Linked DNA regions of Homo sapiens: all the other regions are linked to region 1. Evidence: promoter capture Hi-C in 16 types of primary human blood cells and fetal thymus (Javierre and others, 2016). All regions are on one chromosome and are shown on one strand. Each heading gives the region's core, a stretch centred on a gene start or on the middle of the fragment in contact. The rest is flanking DNA. Distances are from core to core; before and after follow the strand shown.

Evidence for each region. The method cuts DNA at HindIII sites, captures the fragments that hold promoters and counts their contacts. A CHiCAGO score of 5 or more calls a contact.
Region 2: a fragment that was not itself captured here is called in contact with the fragment with the promoter of ZBTB20 in region 1 in 4 of 17 cell types (total B cells, M1 macrophages, fetal thymus and 1 more); the score reaches 8.3 in total B cells.
Region 3: a fragment that was not itself captured here is called in contact with the fragment with the promoter of ZBTB20 in region 1 in 4 of 17 cell types (fetal thymus, naive CD8 T cells, endothelial precursors and 1 more); the score reaches 7.2 in fetal thymus.
Region 4: a fragment that was not itself captured here is called in contact with the fragment with the promoter of ZBTB20 in region 1 in 6 of 17 cell types (M1 macrophages, naive B cells, M2 macrophages and 3 more); the score reaches 7.0 in M1 macrophages.

Annotation. Positions count from the first base shown.
Region 1 is chr3:115,145,977-115,149,385 of GRCh38, forward strand. It overlaps ZBTB20 (zinc finger and BTB domain containing 20), which reads right to left and starts at 1,312. Exons shown (of 12, transcript NM_001348800.3): 1 at 1,243-1,312. RefSeq lists enhancers at 1-97, 1,828-2,037 and silencers at 778-1,047, 1,358-1,527, 2,088-2,307. The HindIII fragment of the contact is 9,545 bases long and covers 133-3,409 here.
Region 2 is chr3:115,665,576-115,669,077 of GRCh38, forward strand. All of the region lies in intron 1 of GAP43 (growth associated protein 43), which reads left to right. Among named protein-coding and RNA genes, the nearest start is that of GAP43, 44 kb to the left of the region's middle. The HindIII fragment of the contact is 1,167 bases long and covers 1,600-2,766 here.
Region 3 is chr3:115,766,274-115,769,794 of GRCh38, forward strand. No RefSeq gene overlaps it. Among named protein-coding and RNA genes, the nearest start is that of SNORD155, 140 kb to the right of the region's middle. The HindIII fragment of the contact is 2,065 bases long and covers 356-2,420 here.
Region 4 is chr3:115,688,925-115,692,413 of GRCh38, forward strand. The region is part of intron 2 of GAP43 (growth associated protein 43); the gene reads left to right. Among named protein-coding and RNA genes, the nearest start is that of GAP43, 67 kb to the left of the region's middle. The HindIII fragment of the contact is 7,513 bases long and covers 1-3,489 here.

The DNA.
Region 1 (3,409 bases), core at 62-2,561:
AACTTGACTTTAGCACCCTTTTGGTATTTTTAATAGAAAAAACAGTGGAGAAGATTTTCACATGTCTAGAAAGGTAACATGTTCAACTTAGGTTTGGCCAATGCTGATTCTGAGGACAGTACTACACCCGCAAGCTTCCAAACTACTTCCTGATTCATTCAGATTTTCATTGGAGAGCTGTCATCCTGCTACTGACCTCATTCAACCCAGTTCGGAGTGAGAGATCAGCGGATTACCGCGCTAGGTACCGTAGCTGTACGCCATATTGTGTTTTTCGCTAATGTTTAGTTTGTGTGTGTGCCTAGCATATGTTTGTGCAAGTGTGTTTATCAATAGAACTTTTAGAAAATCCCTGCCTCCTGCCTCTTCAGCATCCTTAAAAAGGATAACAGCTGGGGGCGGGGGGTGGGGGGAGGACCCAAAAGCCACACAGACAGGAATACATTAAACAGTGTACGAGAGACGGCATTTGTTTTAAACTTTCAAGAACCTTCCAACCATTTTTATATCAGGAATCAAAAAGTGTTAACATGTTTTAATGTTTCCGAAGTGGCCCAAAGAAGAGAAAGAAGGAAAGGTGTGTCTTCCCTTCCCAAGCCCCCTCCTCTCTAGTCGTAGAAGCGAAGCAGGCGGGGGCCGGGAGCTCCGGCGTCTGGAGAGACATCCAGCGGCTGTGGGGCCAGGACACCTCCTGCCCCCCAGTTCTCTGAAGACGCTCCAGAGACCGCGAGAGCCACGGCAAGCGGGGGAGGGCGAGGAGGGAGGGGGCAGAAGACAAGCGGGCGCCTCTAGCAGCTCCTGAGCCCCGGCTAGTCCCCCTCAGCTCCTCTTCTTGGAAGCAGCGGCTCCAGGCGCAGGGAGTAGAGAGAAGAAGGCAGAAGACACGTTTCCAGCTGCGGGACGTCCCGCCCGCCCCGCCACCCTTCGACCCTCCCGCGCCTCCCTCCCACCTCCCCGCCGGGTCGGGCGAGGCAGCCGCCGGGCGCTAAGAAGGGCGCCGGGGGAGGGGGCGCGGGCGGGGCGGGGCGGGGCGGGGCGCGGGGGCGCGCGCGCTCATCCAGCTCAGGGCCCGCTGGCTCGCCGCTCTGTAACTCGCTCCCCCAACCCCACCCCGCTCCCCTCCTTCCCAGTCCCGCCGCCCCCCACTCCAGGCGCCTCGCAGACGCCTCATCCCCCTCGGCACGCACACACTCCTCCCTCTCTCCCGCCCGTCCCACAACAAATTAGAGTTTGTGGCATTACCTCCTCGCGCTCTTTAATCTTCTTTCCTCAACTCCTAAACTTCCCCCCGCCCCTACTTCTTCGGCAGAAGGCCCACATTGGACGCTTCACTCCGCGAACCCTCTATCTCTCCCCGCTATAGGATAGCTCTCACGCCAATCTTGGCTTCAGTGAGCCAATGAGAATGGGACGCCCCTCGTGAGGTTGCCGCCCATAAACAAAATGCACTCTTCCTTCTCCCCTCCGCCCCCCCGTCCCCGCCCCTTTCTTCCTCTTCCCTCATCTCTGTCACCTTCGATTGGGCTAAAAGAGGCCCAATCCGCTATCTCAAACATCCATTGGGACGCGGAAACTTCGCTCAGAGAAGTATTAACAGGCGATTGGTGGACAATCCTTCCACTTCGCCCACCCCCACAACCCCCTCCCCCCGCCGCACCTTCACCCTTTCTGAAAAGGTCAATCGTATCTCGTTGTTCAGTGATCCGGGAGGTGGAAGGCTATTGGTTCAGGGAGCCCGTCAGACCGGACTGGAGTGAGCCATGATTGGTCGACACAGGCGCAATCAGGTTAGGTTGCTTACTCCTCCGCTCCTCCCTCCTTTTCCTCCACGCCCCATCTCCCCCACCCCCTACTGCTTTTACTTTCTACGCATTTCTATTTCCTCCTTTATTTATTTATTTGTGATAAACTTAAATGACCCGGCGACGGAGGCGGTACTCTAGGAGAAGGCTGAGGATGACGAGCGGCGGCCTGGGGCCAATTGCCGAGAGGGCTGCGGGGTGAGGGGCAGCGGCGGTGGCCAGTGAGAGGCAGGTGTCTGGAGCGCGCTGGGCCTGTGGAGCCGGGATGCCCCAGCGGAGGCGGCGGTTACCCGCTGTCTGGCGCGGCGAGCTGCGCCGGGGGAGCCGCGGGAGCGGAGAGGGGGGTGTCGCTGTCTTGGACAGCTGAGGCAGCGGGATGGAGGCTGGATCCCGGGCGGTGGGTGGGAAAGCCGGAGGGAGGGTCTGGCTGGCGGCAGCGCGCAAGGCCGCACCGGGTCACGCTTGATTCCCGCGGAATGGGGCGCAGGTTGCCAGACCGGGTCCCCAGTGCTAGGGCTCAAGGAAGAATTTGTTCATGCAGAAGATTTAGAAAAATACTATGTAAAAGAGTTTGGAGTAAGCCTCCCTTAATATAAATGAGATTTATTATCCTGCCGGAAAAAGCAGATTATGTTTCTTATTACTGAACGCCTGAAGTACCAACGACTCAACCAGAGCCCACAGAATTCAATATCCTGGGTGGTAAAAGGAACAAATAAAGCAACACGGAAAATTAAGTGTGGTTCAAATGCTTCAATAAAATCTTCGTCCTCAACCATTTGTCATTCAACATAGCACTCCCCAGAGCCAAATTCTTACCAAATATTGGTCCAGTACTCAGGCATTGGAGAAAAAAATGAGGCTGAAGTCCAGCAGGAAGCCCAGGATAGATTCCTAAAAAGGATTTCTTACAAGGGCCAAGATGGGAGGGTTGGGGAAATCGCTTTTCACTATACAAAGAAAAAAAAATAATTACTGCCAAACTAAGTTGCACTTTTTTAGGCAGCTGATATAGCAATATTTTGTCACAAAATAAGAGACTTTATCAAAAATACCATGCATGCAAAGAATACACTGTACTTGGGATTTGAAAATGACATTGTTTCTAGGACATGGATTTGATGTATAATTTCCAATAGACTTAAGTCATCTGGATTTTAACCCAGGCTTCTTTGGAACGTACAGCATGCTTTCACATAAGATGCCTGGTTAGAGGTCTTTGACAGAAACTAAGCAAAATAAATTGGCCCTGGTGAAAAAAAAAAAAGTAAGGGCCTTGACCTCATTAATACTATTAAAGCTATCTTGTGAGGATTATATGTATGAGGCTTTGAGAATCCAGAAAATTACTGTGTGTGGTGTCAATTTTGAAGTCTGGGAATTGCTAGTGAGTTTGGAAGCCAAAACACTTTTAAACTTATATATAAATCTTAGCTAAAAAGTGATATTGACTGGGTGCAGCTGCTCACACCTGTAATCCCAACACTTTAGGAGGCCAAGACAGGCGGAACACTTGAGGTCAGGAATTTGAGAGTAGCGTGGCCAACCTGGTGAAACCCCGTCTCTACTAAAAAATACAAAAATTAGCCGGATGTGGTGGCGCACAC
Region 2 (3,502 bases), core at 933-3,432, 520 kb after region 1:
CATAAATTTAAACCACTGTCATTTCCCCCCACCACAGCCCTTGGCAAATGGGGTCTTAAATTCCTTCTCCCACCAACTAGACTTTTAGCATGCATTCTGACACGTATTGTGTATCCTTACTAGATATGAGGTATATAATATTTGGGCTTTACTAACTATCCAGTGGGGGTGCATTGGATATACTTGGCTTGGCAATTTCAAATTATAATGATCTTCAGTACCAGATGCTCTTAAGCTAGTCCCCTACAAATGTCTGGCAGCTTCATTTGTAACTTTTATCAGGCTTGAGTATTACCACACACAAGCACATAGAGTAGCTCTCAGAACCTGCAGAGGCAATTGTTTTACTAGATGTGTGAGGGATATAGTTGGATCAATGGGATAGATACTGTATATGAAATAGTGGCTAAATGAGTGTGTGTGTGTGTGTGTGTGTGTGTGTGTGTGTGTGTGTGTGGTTGGGGGATGTCAGGTGAAGGTCACATATTTTGGGAATGAATAGATTTCTAGTTTCAGTGAATTTCTATCACTAAGCTCCTACACTAGGTGAAGTTTTGGGGGGTGGGTAAGTTAGAGAAGACTGAGAAGGAATCAGTTGGTGTGTGTCAGGTGATAGTAGAGTGGGACTGTGGTTTAACTTTGACAATGTAAACAGATCTTCCCCCTTCCCAAGATAAGAAAGAACAGAGTTGAGTACTATGGCACATTTTACATGGTTTCCTGCTTATCTCTTTCTTTGAGAATAGATATAGCTCAGTAGTACTGTCGAGTTAAGAAATAGCTTTTCCACCCTCTGAGTGATGATACCTACAATCATCAGGATGAATACAGTCTCATGACCAAATCTCCTCTGGTATTTGTCTTATCAACATGCCTTAACTTAATGTCACGATGCTCTAGAAATTACTCTGAGAGAATAATGGTGATGGCAATAATTATGATGAGAATAATGGTAGCAGCCACCCCTTTCTGAGTATGTACAAAGTGTCAGGGACTGTGCTGGGTGCTTTATGTGCATTAACTCATTTGATTCTCATATCAGCCCAATGGGATAGTTTTTTTATTCCCTCATCCTGCAGATGAGGAGCCTAAAGCTGACTTGCCCAAGGTCAGGATCTACCAAGTAACTGGCAGAGCTGGAATTCAAACTTACACATGTCTAACTCCGCAGCCCATGCTCTTAAGCACCAGGGAATATTGACTTTTACAGGAGGAGGACTAAGCAAGGGCTTTGTCATTCAGAAGCTGGATGACGCTGGACTCCTTCCTGGTTCCTCATCTGTGTTGATTATAAAACAGGCACAGTGATGTGTTCCTCACATGATCATGATGAGGATTGAATTGAAATACTAAATATATATACTGTGCACTTATAAATGTAAGAAGAGAGAGGAAAATGACTGCTGGAGAGTGGCGTGATGAAGGCTCCAGCATTAGTGACCTGGAGCGAGAACACCCAGCCAGTGAGCTGAGTGTTCACACACAGAGAGTTTACACACTCTCTGAGCACCAACACAGTATGGCATGTGGTCATGCAACAACTAAAAATAACATTTTTTTTTAGTATCAACTATGTGCCAGCACTATTTTAGCCACTGAAGCTTAGAAGATTGTAAAAAAACAGATAAAGTTCTGTTCTCAGATTGTTTATAGCCCAAGCGAAGTTCAGTTAGTAATAAAATAAAAACATACAGCAGATGATCATAAGAACTAAGAGGGGAAAGACAGAGAAGTGGACCAAGAGTGACAACATTTGAAGAAGGGTGTGTGGTAGAGTGGGTGAGAAAAGTCTCTGACTCATTTATTCATTGAACAAAATGTCTCAAGTACCTGCTGACTCAGACTGTAACTTATGAAGGGGGTTTAATTAAGAAAAAATAGATGAACAATCATTATTTGTTATAGTAGGAAGACTGTAGTAATTTAAGAAAATACTTATCTTATTGCATCTCACATTTTTGAGTATCCAACAAAAGACACTTCGCAGTGTCTTACCTGGAAGGAAGATTGTTTTATGCTAAGTTCCCTGGGCTCTGGGGCCCTCTTCCTGCTGGTGAGCTCTGACCATCTTCAGGAGCTTGGCATGTGCTTTGCTCTTGGGGCCTCTCAGCTGGGAAAGATTTGCCTCTGGTGGTAGTACAGGGGTTTGTCTGCTGGTAAACTGCTTTTCTGTCTTTTTCTTGATGCATTGGCTTCCTGCAGCTCTTCTTCTGTCTTCAGTTGCTAGCAGAAGAGGCCTCACAGTCCCTCTCATGGACTGGTCTGTGATAGCCTTTTTAGCTGAGTGATGGGGAGTTCCACCCTTTTGTTCCTAGCTCACAGTGGCTGCTAAAGGCATAGCAACCTCTCTGAGAGCAGAGTCTAGTGTCCCCCTCACTTTGCCAGCCCTTCTGTCCTTTGAGCATGTCATTTCTTGAGGGAATCAACATGTGCTTCTGTAATGGGCAGTGTTCATCAGAGGGTTTGCTCCCATTGCTCAAGAGTAGAGATGCTTCCTCCCAGGGCTGACTTCCCATAGGTATTTTCCTGAGTCTCAGTGATTTTGACCCTTGATTCAGTTAGGTAACTTATACCTATGTCTGCTATATCCAAAAGTTTTCTAGAGGAGTTTAGTCAAGTGATTCTGTCTGGCTTGTGCCTTGGTACATGACCAGCATGATTAACGTGCCTCATCGCAACACTGGGCTCTTCCAACCCCTGTTTAGGGAAGGAGACTTCCTTCCTTGAATAACTAAGGGACTAGTTATTCCCAGCCTACTCCCCTTAAGCTTTGGAGAGCAATACACAGATTAAATATAAATAGTAGGGAGCAGAGATTCTCCAGCAATCTCCCATGAATATTTTCACCACTTTTATTTATTTATTTGAGACGGAGTTTCGCTCTTGTTGCCCAGGCTGGAGTGCAATGGTGTGATCTCAGCTCATCGCAACCTCCGCCTCCTGGGTTCAAGCAATTCTCCTGCCTCAGCCTCCCAAGTAGCTGGGATTACAGGCATGTGCCACCACACCTGGCTAATTTTGTATTTTTAGTAGAGACAGAGTTTCTCTATGTTGGTCAGGCTGGTCTCAAACTCCTGACCTCAGGTGATCTGCCCACCTCAGCCTCACAAAGTGCTGAGATTACAGGCATGAGCCACAGCACCCAGCCACTTTCACCAGTTTTGCTAGTGAAAACGCATATAAGCAGGGAGCAGTGCCTCACACTGTAATCCCAGCACTTTGGGAGGCCGAGGCAGGAAGATGGCTTGAGTCCAGGAGTTTGAGACCAGCCTGGGTAATATGGTGAAATGTTGTCCATCTCTACAAAAAATATAAAAATTAGCTGGGCATGGTGGCACATAGCTGTAGCCCCAGCTATTTGAGAGACTGAAGTGGAAGGATTGCTTGAGCTTGGGAGGTCAAGGCTGCAGCAGTCATCTGAGATAGTGCCACTGCGCTCCAGCCTGGGTGACAGAGAGTGACCCTGTCTAAAAAAAAAAAAAGAAAGAAAAAGTACACACAC
Region 3 (3,521 bases), core at 138-2,637, 620 kb after region 1:
GAAGGATGCACGTTCCTGATGAAGATCAGAGGAAACTCCCAAGGCCGCAGAGTGCCTTAGCTCTTGGGAAGGAAATACCCACACCAGGTGGTGCTTGTCAGCAAATAGATTTAGTTTTATATTTTATGAGAGTATTACTTCTGGGTCAGGTTTTCATTTTCATTCTGTGTAGGTGCATATTGTTAAATTCCATTTCCTATAGGCACAAAATGTATTACCTCTGTTTTACCATCCTCTAGATATGGAAAACCATGTAAAGGACTAAGACAACTTTTATTGTGGACACACTGAATGCAAACGTGCTCTTAGACTCTAGCAAGCAGAGAGGGAACAACAGGTTTAACTCCAAGTTCTAAGCTTATAACTGAAAAGCTGTCCTGCAGGGAAGGAGGCACACAAATCCAGCTCAGAGCTTCCAACCTTTCTCAGGGTTTGTTCTTGCAGAATACAATTGAAGAGTGATTTACATGGTAGTAAGATAAAAGAAGTATAAACAGCTCAGCTATGACTCAGCTCATCTTGACTCCTTCACACAGGGCACAAAAACAGTCAGATGCTTCAAAGTTAGAAGGACCAGAAAAGGAAAATCTGCAAAGGAAAGCCTTTGAAAAGAAATTTGGCAAAGGGCCTGATCTACAAAGCTGATTTTCCCTGGTATAAAATGTCCCCATAGCACAATGCTTTTTATTCTGGATGAAGTGGGCTATAGAGAGGGTGACAGATGACTCACCCACCCTGAAAATTAGAGCTCATGACTTGATATGTTCACGTTAACCGGAAGAGATAAAAAGATGGGAAAGGTAAGACCCTGTTAATTCACTGTAGGGATTTAGGGGGAGGATAGACGGGGCCAACATCTTGGTGAATCCTTTTTCTCACAGTAGTTACTTGTACTGTCATTGAGCACTGAGACTAAGGAGCAGGCAGATCAGAAAAGTGATTTCTCATCCCACTCTATTCAGCATTAATGGCACAAAATCCCATTAGTGCATTCTAGGGGTTCATTTCAAAACAGACAATGGCCTCTGAATCAGCCTGCCATGCATAATCATCCGGCAATAGGGAAATTACACAATCAAAAATTTATCAAAAGACCACGAAAGGCAGCTATGTGAGGTCATGCCCATTCCTTCTTTAGCAGGGAGGAGGAGACATCACTTTAAGACCAGCAAGATCGATTTTTGTTTCATAACCATAGCTGGATTCACATGATCAGTCCAGAAAAGATAAAACTCTTTTGAAGGAGAAAGTGAAAGGAAGGAGTCTTGTTATTATAATTATTTTATAAATAGGTGAAAATAATTTTATCCCCCTTAGGCATTCTTATGTTCTATATCAACTTTTTTAAAGAAAATTCTCCCACATTCCCTTTTATTATAATTGAAATTCAAGTCCTAGAGGGTTGTCCAGTGTCCTATCTTTAGCCTCTACTCTCTCCTAGCCTCTACTCTCTCCTAACCTTGGGACCTGCTTTCCCAATAGTTTGTCAGACTTTATCACATGGATTTTCTTCAAATCCATGTCTGGCATTAAAATATCGTCATGCTTATCCTTTCAGACACATTTATTGGTACATTTATATAGTTCTTTTTTGGTTTTAACATGCATTCACATGCATTATCTTGATTCCTACAACCAGGGTGTAGCCAATGTTATCAGTGGGATGACTCCCAAATCCTTCTCTCTGTTTTCTATTCTTACTACCATCACCCAGTTTAAAATTTTATTATACTGAACTATGGTCATTGCAGTTTTTATCCTGATCTTTGTGTCTTCAGTCATTCCCTTCTTCAAATTCTCCTGCTGCTAAAGCAATCTTATAATAGCAATGCTTTGTTTAACTCTCTTTTGCCTAAATGGTTTGAATTATTGGCTTAAATGAATGGATTCAATTATTTACTATTTAAAAATTAAAGCCCTTCTGCCTAGCATTTAAAGCCCTCAATAAAAAGGCCTAAATCACCTTTTATAAATCTTCATTTTGTCCATCATTTCCCATCTACACATATACTTCCTTTGGTTAGATCTCCTGAGTCCACTATGCCACATCTCCCTGAGTAGCTGGCCCCATCTATCTGAACACAGCTGATTGGCAGGGATAGACACCTGACCCAGCTGGATTAATCAGATTATCTTCCTAAGGAATTTGGATTTAAGACTCAGCAACTCAGCCCAGTCGATTACCTAATGTTACTGGGCCTGGATGACACTATAGATAAAATTGTATGACTGTCATTTTGCAGCAGCTATTTGTATGCTGAGACCTCAAAGAAAGGAGCACTCTGCAGATAGAAGCAGGTAAATGGGGCCAAAATCCAGAAAAGGGTAAAAATTAGATGCTTGGAAAGAGAGACAAGAGATGGAAAGTAGATGGCTTTGCTCTTGAAGGCATTCCTGCTTTCCATTCTATACAATAATGAAGCTTAGCTGCTGTTCCTGCCCTTTTTTCTCATGGGTTCTAGTTCTTAGAATAAATTCCCGTTAACTTATGGTAGTTTAGGTGAATTTCTATATCTTGCAACCAAACAGTCCCTGGCTAAAAAATATCCCTTCGAGACAGCCAGATCAGCCTTTTGCCAGACCTGAAGTACATCTTGCCATTTCTCACACCATCTGTCAGAAAGGCCCTCTACTTTCATCTGCTCACATCCTTTAGCATTCACTTCAAATGCCACGTTTTTATCCACACTTCCATAATCACCCCTCTCTCATGGATAAAGCAAATTCCAGCAATTCTGCAACCTGAAAGCAACAGGAGAATTTCAGGAATTAACTTCTGATCTACTGGATTTTTAGACAAATGAGAAGAACCAGAGCAACCTTCTGTTTTATTTTAAAAGAAAGAAAAACATCCTCTCTTGTTTACACTTAGGAACAAATCAACTCAACGAATTAAGAGGGGGCATTGAACTAAACCTCTTGTCTCCATCCCTCTTTTGGCCAGGGCCTTGCGTCTACACCTTTGCATCTACACTCTTTACCAAATCCTGATTTTCAAGTTATTTCAGTGATGTAATCGCATGAGTCCATTTTAGTGGCACTAAAGGTCTGGAGGGGAGCACACTTTCCCAGACACAACTTCCCTGGGTGCTCCCTCTCCTCCTGTGTCAAGCATCCCAAATTGGCCACTTCTGACTGCCGGCTCCCACTGAATTTGCGGCCCACCATCACCTCAAGGTCGCTTTCACTATCATTATTGTTCAGTATTCTCCTGCTCATTGAATATGTGGTGCTTTGGATATTTCCCCAGATGATTCAGCTTGCATCGATTCAAGCTAAAACTCATTTCCCTCCTATTTTCACAGATTCTCCTAATCAATTTCATGCTGCAGAACAATTTCATCTTCCCTCCCGTTGTGCATGTTAGAAAAGCCTGCTGAATCATGTGCTGTAAGTATTTAGCTCTGGCTTTGCCTTGACAGCTTTGCAGTTATGTCCTGGTCCAGTTTTGAAGCTGGTTGTTGTAGTAATTTCACCTTCGTCAGAGGCCTCATGAGGATATCTCATTTGATGGTAAATAT
Region 4 (3,489 bases), core at 635-3,134, 540 kb after region 1:
ATATGATCTCACGTCTTAGCTTTCTGATCAGATGTCCTTCTGCTCAGCCCTTCTTCCCCATTCTCCAGCCCTAATAGCTTTCTTAAGGTCTCTTGAATGTATACAGCTTGCTCCTGTCCCAGGGCCTTTACACTTGCTTTCTCCCTTGAGCTTCCCATGGTCACCTCTTAGCCCTGGCCTCTTGGCACTCAGGTCTCCATTTGAATGTCCCTTACTCAGACAAGTCTTCCCTGACCATTTGGGCAGAACAGCACTGCACTACCCCTACCAATGCCAACAGTTACATCACATTACCCAGTTTATTTTCTCCGTAGCATTCTTAGTGCCTAAAACGACTGTGTTTATCTGTGTCGTCCTCAGTTTCTCTCCCTCTCAGTAGACTTTTCATTTCTTGAAGGCTGCATGGTAGCCCCAGTGCTCAGAATAGAGCACAGCACATAGAAGGCTCTCAATAGACATCCTCTGACTGGCCAATAATATGGATTGCACCTATGGAGAGATTTCTTTTCATAAACAGCTTGAAAGGGAAAGAACCATTTAATTTTTTAAATTTGAAGCCCCACAAGAAAAGCTAAGAGTTTTTCAGGCAAGTGTCCATCTTTATTGCTTGCAGCCCAGTTCTTTGGAATTTTATACATCAGCAACTTCTTTTCCATGACCCATTTCTAAATATTTCCTAGGCACCCAGACACTCTGAGTCTGAATGAGGATATTTGATTGAGAAGGAAAATTGGTCAGAATGTGAAAAAGGAAGGTGGGCCCTTAGGAGGAACAAGGTGGGGATGTGGATAGAGATTCTTTACTTCCTATAGAGAAAAGGGAGAGTAGGAGGGAAGAATAATGGGGTAGAAAATGGAGAAAAAAGTGGGAGGAAAAAAAGCAGAAGAGGACCAGAAATCGATCAGGGGAGGCAGAAAGAATAAGCAAGGGCAAAGTGGAGAAAGAATAGATGGTAGAAAAGAGAAAGAAGGAATAATAGGCGAGAAAGCAAGAGGTGTGGGAGAAGCAGGGCTGGAGGGGCGCTGAAGAGCAGGGGAAGGCACTGACTGAGCTGAGTACCAAGAGACAGCCGTGGTTTTCTTGTAGCTCTGTTTCTGACAAGCTCTCTGGCCATGGCCAAGGCCAATTTACCTTCCTTGCTGGTAAAAGATGGTTTTATGGGATCTTCCAGCACTAGCGCTCTCTGTTCTTGGCTTCACAAACAGCAGGCCCTAAAGGGTTCCTTGACAAATGGATTTTCTGTCTTTGAGCAGATCTAAGTGGCAGATGGGGCACAGCTCCCCTAGGAGAGACCCCCCCGCCACCCCCTGCCCACCATTGTCTGAGCCCTTCTGCAGCATCAGTCCCCAGCCAGCGCTGCCTCAACAAACCAAGAGACATTGTCTCTGCTTGCTTCCAGACAGGAAAAGAAAAGGATTGAGTTTCATAATCTCACAATTTTAAATGTAGGCCTATTTCCATAAGAAGTTTCAGATTACAAGGCATGTTTCAGAAACATTTTTTTACTTTGAACACCTCATAAAGAGACAGTCTTGGAACTGGACAGTCCTGGGTTCAACCTCAGGTTCCTCACTGCATGGTTTTAATGATTTGTATAACCTTCAGTGTCTTCATCTATAAGATAGAGATTAAAATGTTACCCTTAAACAGTTGTGATGAGGATTTAATGAGGTAACATATTTAAAGAACCAGGTATAGAGTAGGTCCTCAATTATTATCATTTTGCCTAAGTTTTCTTCTGATAATCTGAAATAATCACTTTTGATCCTCATACTCTCCTCTCCCCATATGAAGATCCTCTGGGCAAATCTTTTTTTTTTTTTTCTTTCTTTCTTTTTTTTTTTTTTTTGAGACGGAGTCTCCCTCTGTCGCCCAGGCTGGAGTGCAGTGGTGCAATCTCAGCTCACTGCAAGCTCCGTCTCCCAGGTTCACGCCATTCTCCTGCCTCAGCCTCCTGAGTAGCTGGGACTACAGGCACCCGCCACCATGCCCGGCTAACTTTTTGTATTTTTAGTAGAGATGGGGTTTCACCATGTTAGCTAGGATGGTCTCAATCTCCTGACCTCATGATCCACCCGCCTCGGCCTCCCAAAATCCTGGGATTACAGGCATGAGCCACTGCGCCTGGCCCCCTCTGGGCAAATCTTAAAATTGAAGATGGTAAAAGCATGGATAATCTGTCATCTTCCTACAGGTAAAATAGTGGAAGAAATTACTTCATCCAGCAAATAAAGAGAACAATGGTTTCTTGGTGACCCAAAGTAAAGTATTTCAGAGTACTATTTTGTATTCGAAGTAATACAAAAGACAAATATATTATTCAGTGGATACTGCAACAATAGACAGAATTGCAACAAACATGAATTTAGCCAAATCTCTTGCTTGGAGGCCTGCAGTGGAGGAGAAATATCAGAGCGATCTTGGAATCGGACCTATCTATGTTTGAATCAAAGGTCCAGTCCCTAACCAGCTCTATGCCATTAATTCAGCGTCAGCTTTGTCATTGTGAAATAAAATATCCTCATTGCTGAACTTGGTGGTTGTCGGTATTAAATAGATCATGTGTAAAAGGTGTCTATTATGGTATTTTATTGAACACACAGTAAGTGCCTAATAGAAAGTCACCATTGTTCCTGTTCCTTTCAGCTGAAGCTATTGGGGAACTTTCTTTTTCTTTGGTACTACACCTGATTTTATGAAGGAAATTAACGTGCAAATAGGACATGATTTATGGCCAGCAAGAGAGACACATAATGATTTGCAGTCTCTTTTGGGAGTCAGAGTCTATTCTATTTGGCCTACCTTGTAGCTCAGCAACATTACCAAGTCCTTACATTATCAGTAATGATTGAGCCTGGAAGTCAGCCAAGGTTACCAGGTAGTGATGTTAGGGTTAATTTGGGCTTCATGTAATTTGTCCCTCAGAAACTGCAATCTAGGGATTCAATAGAAAAGGTTGGGATACCTTAAGGGAAATAGCTAACACACTCTTTCCAGGTAGATACCAGCTATAACTTGTCACATCTTGTATTTCAATCCTACAGTCTTAGACCTAAAAGGAAACTTAAAAATTGCCTAAGCCTGGGAACTGGATGGGCTTCAGGAGGGTTCTTTCATCTCCTAAGATTATTTGCAACATGTTATACTGTGTGTGCATACGGATGATATTCTTGGCAAAATGACCTTGTCTTTCATCAGATACTCTACTGGGACCACTGCACAAAAATATTATGATGCACTATGCTTGAACAATCTCCAGGAGAAGTTGTGTGTGCCTGTGTTTTAATGAACGATGAAGCATGTTCTGGGATTCAGTTGCATGGTCTGGCCATGGTCCCACAATGAGTTAGCATCAGAATAGAGGAGATAAACCCAGATATCGCAAGGACTGTATTCTACTGTCATTCAATTAATTTGTACTTATTAATACGTATAATTTCCACACTACACAGGCATTGTGAGGGATGTAGATTATAAAAGTGAATATCT